Linked DNA regions of Homo sapiens: region 2 is linked to region 1. Evidence: promoter capture Hi-C in 16 types of primary human blood cells and fetal thymus (Javierre and others, 2016). All regions are on one chromosome and are shown on one strand. The core of a region is centred on a gene start or on the middle of the fragment in contact, and the rest is flanking DNA. Distances in the headings are between cores, read along the strand shown.

What was found. Contacts are between HindIII fragments. The CHiCAGO score rates a contact against its expected background, and 5 or more counts as called.
Region 2: a fragment that was not itself captured here is called in contact with the fragment with the promoter of CCNA1 in region 1 in 2 of 17 cell types (total CD4 T cells and total B cells); the score reaches 7.6 in total CD4 T cells.

What each region holds. Positions count from the first base shown.
Region 1 is chr13:36,430,883-36,434,642 of GRCh38, reverse strand. CCNA1 (cyclin A1) reads right to left here and starts at 2,148. Exons shown (of 9, transcript NM_001413923.1): 1 at 1,914-2,148; 2 at 1,422-1,610. The coding sequence starts at 1,586. RefSeq lists silencers at 2,255-2,414, 2,445-2,494, 2,775-2,844. The HindIII fragment of the contact is 15,627 bases long and covers 237-3,760 here.
Region 2 is chr13:38,911,704-38,915,327 of GRCh38, reverse strand. It overlaps the pseudogene ANKRD26P2. Among named protein-coding and RNA genes, the nearest start is that of STOML3, 77 kb to the left of the region's middle. The HindIII fragment of the contact is 685 bases long and covers 1,020-1,704 here.

The DNA of each region.
Region 1 (3,760 bases), core at 899-3,398:
GGAAGGTACAAAATAGATTTCTAAGCAGGTTGTAGAGGATAGGTACAGGGAAATGCAGAAGTGGCACCAGGTAACATAAGAGGTTAGCAACTGGGAATTTAAAATGCGACCATTCAACACAGGCACAACTGACAATTCATAAGAACCAAGTCTCAGGCGTTAAGTTTTAAAAAGCAAACATTGCTAAGCAAATTAAAATTTGTTAAAACCACTTCCACTCAATTTTCTCCAAAGCTTTGAACAGAGCATGTGAAGAGTCAGTAGATGAGAGGCTTCTAATCTAGTTTCTACCATAGCTTTCTTTTGGCAGAGGCTTAAACCTTTCAGATTTTCTCACTTATGAAATAGGAAAGGTATAGTTTTCAGTCTGGTTAAGGTATCTATGATCAGTTAAGTTCACACAACTAATATCTGAGGGACCATTACCTGTTAGCATAGCTGCTTAGTCAGTACTGGGAAGATGTCTGCCTTCAAAGCACCCATTTTGGAGTAATCTAATCTAGCCTGATCTAATCCTGATTTTAACACTATCCGCAATGAACACAGCCAAGATTATCCAGGTTTGCTTTAGGCACAGCCTGCATCAATGTGAACACTGCTCTAACCTGGAGGAACCCCAGTTCCACAGTTTATTTGGAAGCATTCACATTTCCTTTTAGCCCAGCCCTTAAATTACTTTAATATACATAACCCAAACAGTTCCTAGACCTATTTCCTTGATAGTGGAAAAAATAACAAAGAAAACTAATCACTATTTCTAGCTGAAAACCGAACCCCTCAAGGTGATCTTAAGAAATCAACTGGCCTGCCACCGTGGCTGACGCCTGTAATCCCAACACTTTGGGAGGCCGAGGTGGGCGGGTCACCTGAGGTCAGGAGTTGGTGACCAGCCTGGCCAACATGGTGAAATCCCATCTCTACTAAAAACACAAAAATTAGCCGGGCGTGGTGGTGGGTGCCTGAAATCCCAGCTACTCGGGAGGCTGAGGCAGGAGAATCGCTTGAACCCGGGAGGTGGAGGTTGCAGTGAGCCGAGATCGCGTCACTGCACTCCAGCCTGGCGACAAGAGCGAAACTCCGTCTCAAAAAAAAAAAAAGAAGGAAAGGAAAGGAAAGAAAAAAAAAGGAAAGGAAGAAGGAAGAGAAACAAAGAAAAAGAAAGAAGGAAAGAAAGAGAAAGAAAAGAAAGAAAGAAAGAACGAAAGAAAGAAAGAAAGAAAGAAAGAAAGAAAGAAAGAAAGAAAGAAAGAAAGAAAGAAAGAAAGAAAGAAAATAAATCAATCAACTTTCCTGTAGTCCAGATTCCAGGGTTGTAATACTCAGGGGGAGTTGTAGGTACAAGGGCAAGAGAAAAGCACCTGGCACCAAAGCAGGAGAGCTGTTCTCCACAAGCATCATTCTCAATGCGTCTGAGTCATTACCTGGCCACAGGTCCTCCTGTACTGCCCATTTGCAGTTAGCAGCCCTAGCACTGTCCTCTGCGGGGGATCCTGGCCCAGCGGGGCTCTGGTGAGTATCTGACAAGCATCGGGACCTCGGGCCACTGTAGCCAGCACAACTCCACTCTTGGGGTTGCTGCAGTGCATTGCTTCAGACTCCACGGGCTGCTGCTACCAGGGAAAGAGAAACAGACAAGCTGTTTAGTCGATTCCGTCCACCCCGGGCTCCAAGGACACAGCGAACCTCTAGGAGGGAGAGCACCAAGCAATGGGACTAACACCAATTGCTGATCTTCCCAGTAATTATTGGGGCTGAAAGGGCAGGTGCGACCGCACAGGCGATCAAAGTTGCTCTGAATCAAAACAGTTATTTGAATCCCTGAGGGAGGCTTTTTATCCCAAGACTTCGTGTTGGGCTGGAAGGAGAGAAACATTCTGACAAGCCTCCAAGTCGGGATACTAAACCCACGTTACCTGGAAGACGAAATCTGGGAGCCCCGGTCCTTCCCAGCTGAGATACTCTTCTCCCCAGCCCCCAATAAAAGATCCAGGGTACATGATTGCGGGAAAGCCGGTCTCCATCCCAAGTGACGAGCAGGGTGCTGCGCTGCGGCCTCCTCCCACCAGACAGGAGGCCCCAAAACCTGCCTGGACCCCAAAGCGGGCCCCGCTCTTCCCGTCGTTATCTTTCTATGTGTCCGGAACAACTGGCAAGTGCACTGGAGGATCGCGGTTAAGAGGTGGCCGGCTGGGCGGGGCAGGGCGGGGCAGGGTTGGGCAGGGCCGGGCCGGGCCGGGCGGGGCAGGGCGGGGAAGGGCAGGGAAGGGCAGGGCACGGAAGGGCGGGGCGGGAAGGACCAAGTGTCGAGGGATTCCAGCCTGGGAGGCGGCCGGGCTTAGCGATGCGGCTGAGCTGCCCACCCGCGTCTGTTGAATCGGCCAATCAGCGGCGCCCCCGGACCTAGCGGGAGCGTTTCCATGCCGACCGCGGCAGGCGTGCGCTCTCCGGGGCCGCATCGCCATGGCGACCTGCTCACCTGACTCGCTCCGGGTGGACTCGCCGCGACCCCTGGGCGTTCAGGCCCCTGAGGGCCCAACGGGCGACGGCCCTCCAGCTCCAGCTGTGCGTCTCCGCCCGGGCGAGGTGGGGCTGACCGCGGCCGTCTGCACACGTCCCCTCTGGTCCGCGCCCCCGGCCTGGGAGGGCGGACTCGCCCACCCCACGATGGCCCCGGCTTTGGAAGGGACTGTTTCCGTGACCCGTTCTCCCAACAGCCGCTAACAACCCCCTCTAACGTCTCCTGCGCGGCCCGCTCCTGAGAACCCTGGCTCGGGAGAGCGACGCGGGGTCCTCGGGGCTGCGCAGGCTGCGGCGCCCTGCCCACGCTGGCCCGAGGGCGCGGCTCGCTCCGGGTCGGCTCACACACCTACGCTTCCTGCCGGGAGGCGGCTGGGACGCGGCGGGGCTGCCCCAAGTGCAGTCGCGGCAGTGTTGCGTCTCCATCGCGGGGGTCCTTGCGGGCCGCGCCTGCCCCGCCCGGCTCCCGGTGCATGTGGCCTGCGAGGCGGCAGAGGAGATGTGGGGATTTAGGGTCGCACGTCGTGCTCGAGGTCCCCACGAGAGGTCTTCCCCCGCGGGCTCCTGCGCAACTGCGTGAAGCCGGCCCGGGAAAGCCAAGATTGTGGCCCAGGAAGAGGAAGGAACGCGGGCGACAGAGCTGGGGCTTGGGACGTTGAGGGGGTCGGTGGCAGCTCTCCGGGCTGGGGGCCGGGCGGGCGGCCCGGCCGCGTGGGGAGAGGAGTCCCTGGGGTCCTTATACGGGGGGCTCCTGGAAACCCGGGGGCTCAGACGCCTGCATAGGTGACTGACAAGCCAGGTGAAATAATCGAACTTTATTTTTTTAAAAATAATATGTATATATGCACACACACATTACCAATGCTATAGTCTGTTACTACTTTTGCTTTTTTTAAAACATCCATCCCTAAATCTCTAAATCAGATCCAAAGTCTATTCAAATGGCCACTTTATGCAAGCAACGGTTATCACCGTTTTTCTAAGTGTGCGTTATTAACATTTTCACCAAGCAAACTGAGTGTGGACATTGCTTTAATGGGAAGATAGTAGTATTCTAACAAAAGCGCCGGTTGAAAGCCTTGCAGTTGAGGTAAATATTAAGAAGTTGGTAAGCATCTGGAGAATCAAGGCTGGATGAGGGAGGAACGCAGAAACGGATCTTGTTCAACATGAAACTCATTTCTATACGTTTGTCACAGACTTCTATTCCTTGAGAGACAGCAGTCCGCTTGCACCCCAGATT
Region 2 (3,624 bases), core at 113-2,612, 2.5 Mb before region 1:
TGCTTAATTTTTCCCAGGTAATGAGTGAATTGTACAAGGGTGGTGAAAGAACATGCTTGAAAATGTCTTTGAGGGCTAATTTTTAAAATCTCTAAATTGGTTTCCTAAACACAATTAGTTTTGGCTTTTAAAAAAAGTTTTAGTTTATTAATTGTATAAATTTAAGAAGCACAACATGATATATTGACATATTTATACATAGTGAAATGATTATTACAGTTAAGCAAATTCATCATCTCACATACTCTTTAAATACAAGTATTTCTGAATGGCATCCTCAAGAATCTTATAAGCAGAGCCATCCCAGAAGACAGTGAGTGCTACCTGTTAAGGCTCAGGCAAGAGAAAAACGTAGGCAAGGTGATGGGACCGGGAGAAAAGATTGAGGGATTTATTGAGTCAAGACCAGCTCCGTATCAGTCACTTTTCAGAGTTTTGAAATGCATCTACAAGAGTGCCTGTGAAACACTCTTAAAACAGGCAATTCTAATTCAGTATGGTATGGCATTGAATAGAGATGTACGAGATGCATGGAGTAAGGGGAATTGGGGAGTAATCTACATGGCTTCTGGAGGAACCTCTGAGTCATGGCCCTGGAAGTGTTAGAGGTAGGTCCTGAGAGTATGTGAGCATTTGCCTTGGAAGGTGCCTAGCCCACCATCACTGACTGGGGAAAGCATGGCTAAAGTACCCAGGCATGGAGGGATGTATTTGGAGCACTGAAAGCCATTGGTATGGCTAGAATTTAGGGCAATAAAACTAAGAGAGAGAAAATGGCCAAAATCCCGGTCAAGGTGGCATGTCCATGACTCTTCTGAGGAAACCCAAACAAGGGAGAAAGGGGGTGGTTAGCAGAGGTCCCTGATATCCCCTCCTTTTTCAGAATATCTAATGATGATTCCACCTTTCAATTGAACACCCGTAAAATCAGAAACCCCAAATTCTGTTGTGCATGACTCATTGTCACGGACACATCTGTCCTCTTCTCCTGTGTGTACTTTCACTTTGCAATAAAAGCTTCTTGAGCCTTTGTCCCTGAATTCTTCGTAGTGATGGTGTCAAGAATCTGGACGCCAGGTGGGGCTGCGGTCTCACAGGTATCTGGAGACCCTCCTGAGCCCTCTGGCAACATGATTTCCTGGCTTTGTTCTATTTAATTTAGTTTAATTTAATTTTTTTTGAGATAGAGTTTCACTCTTGTTGCCCAGGCTGGAGTGCAATGGTGCGATCTCAGCTCACTGCAACATCCACCTCCTGGGTTCAAGTGATTCTCCTGCCCCAGCCTCCCGAATAGCTGGGATTACAGGCATATGCCACCACCACACCTGGCTAATTTTGTATTTTCAGTAGAGGTGGGGTTTCTCCATGTTGGTCAAGCTGGTCTCGAACTCCTGACCTCAGGTGATTCACCTGCCTTGGCCTCCCAGTGTGCTGGGATTAGAGGCATGAGCCACTGCGCCTGGCCTATTTACTTTTTTTTTAAATAAAAAAGTATAAACAAAGTTGCGGTTGTGCTTTCCTTATTAATGTTGGACTTCAAGCTACCTCCACCAACTGAAACATAATCTCAAGCTGAATAAACAGGCCATGGAGAAAGCAGGAGCGTTTTTATTTAAAATATTTAAGTATTTCACTCCATACAGAACTAACGGAACTTTTGATTTAGTATTATGCATAACATAAAAATTAGCAGTTTATTAAGCTTTTCTATTTCCTCTGGCAATATTTATTTTCTGCTAGGCTATTATTCTACACACTTCAAAAGCCATTAATGGCACCCTTTTCTAACCAAACAGGACAATGATTAATGTCACCAAGACATTTTTCTCTCCTTTTCCTTTCCATAATCTGTGCCAGGTACTGTATTAAGTCACTCAGTAAAAATTCCAGGGATAAAAGTTCTGAATTTCTATTCATAGAAATGTGAGGAAAATGTGTGATTTAATGGGAAAGCAAGAATAAAATAAAAGGGAATTTTAAAAAGTCATTTAGGCCGGGTGTGGTGGCTCACGCCTGTAATCCCAGCACTTTAGGAGGCCGAGGAGGATGGATCAACTGAGGTCAGGAGTTTGAGACCAGCTTGGCCAACGTGGACAAACCCCGTCCCTGCTAAAAATACAAAAATTAGCTGGTCGCAGTGGCGAGCACCTGTAATCCTAGCTACTCGGGAGGCTGAGGCAGGAGAATTGCTTGAACCCAGGAGGCAGAGGTTGCAGTGAGCCGAGATTGCACCATTGCCCTCTAGCCTGGGCAACAAGAACAAAACTCTGTCTCAGAAAAAAAAAAAAAAGTTATTTAATAGTTTTCATTTCCCCCTTGTGAATATGGGTAAAACCACCGCAGCCTCCCAACAGCCAGGACAACACTGGAGTCATTAACACTCAAGATCATTTTCCAGTGTTTTCGGGTGCCCCTCTCAGAGCATCTCCCGTGTTCTGAGTCTGTTTCTTTACCCTCTGAGCTTTTATATCTGATCTGGTGTTTCTTACCCAAAGGCAGTTGCCCTCAGCAACTGGTAAAGTGTTCAAGGGTCAGTGAAAGGCTAAAAAAAATGTATGTAGGAGGAGGCCATCCCAAGGTTGGGCAACTACTTCTACCAAAAGAGAAAAAAAGTCCTCTACTTAAATTTGTTATACAAAAAATATTCTTTATCTAGAGAGTTATTTCTTTAGCATAAAAACAAGCAAGCTGATGAGAAAGGTACTTCATTTTTATCTAGTAAAATTTATGTACTATGAATGTATTTGTGAATGGGGTATAAAGAAATTAATACAATCTATTACAGATAGGAAGTATAAGAAGAACTTTTGGGGGAAAGATAACAATGTTACTTTAAGAGTTTTTTAATTCAAGTCACGTAAAAATGTACATTTTACATAGTGTTCATTAATGATAAAGTAAATTTCTTTCAATAAAGCCTTCTCCCTTTATCTGATATTGAGTTATCACTTTTATAAAATTTTTCTCATAATTCTATTGTCATGTCACTAGTTTTATAAGGCCTGTCTATAATGTTATGATCACAGAAAGATTATGGAAAACTATCTCTTAAAATATTGCAAAAGCTATTGGTCAAAAAACTTGTAAAGGCATTGTATATCATATTGTCATTGTCACCAAAAATATTATGTTTAGTAAAGAATTTTAGAACCTTTTCTGGGCATTTAGTGAGAGAACACCTTTTGCACAAAAGATTTAAATAAAAACATTCTAGATGGGAACACTTGCAATATAGTTTGAAGTATCCCCACACAATTTCATAATTAAGTAGAGAACTACAGTTAATTAGATGTTTCAAAAAATGCTACTACTTTTTGAAAAGCATAAAAGTTACAATTAAAAGGCTGTATATTGTTTTCTTTGTTTCTAATTCTAGAAGGTCATGAAACAAAGAAACCAAGTTTGTAAACTGGTTTTAATCTATATTCTTTTTTCAAGTAAATTTTAAAAATCTTTGTTTCCCATATGGAAAGGAAGATTTTTTATTCATATGTAAAAAAATTAGTTGCAATGCAGATAGAATAATATTTCTACTTAATATTTTGCCAGTAGAATTTTCACATATTATGTGACAGTACCACTTTCTTCAGGTACATATTTAAAATTCTGTCCCGAAAAGTTAAT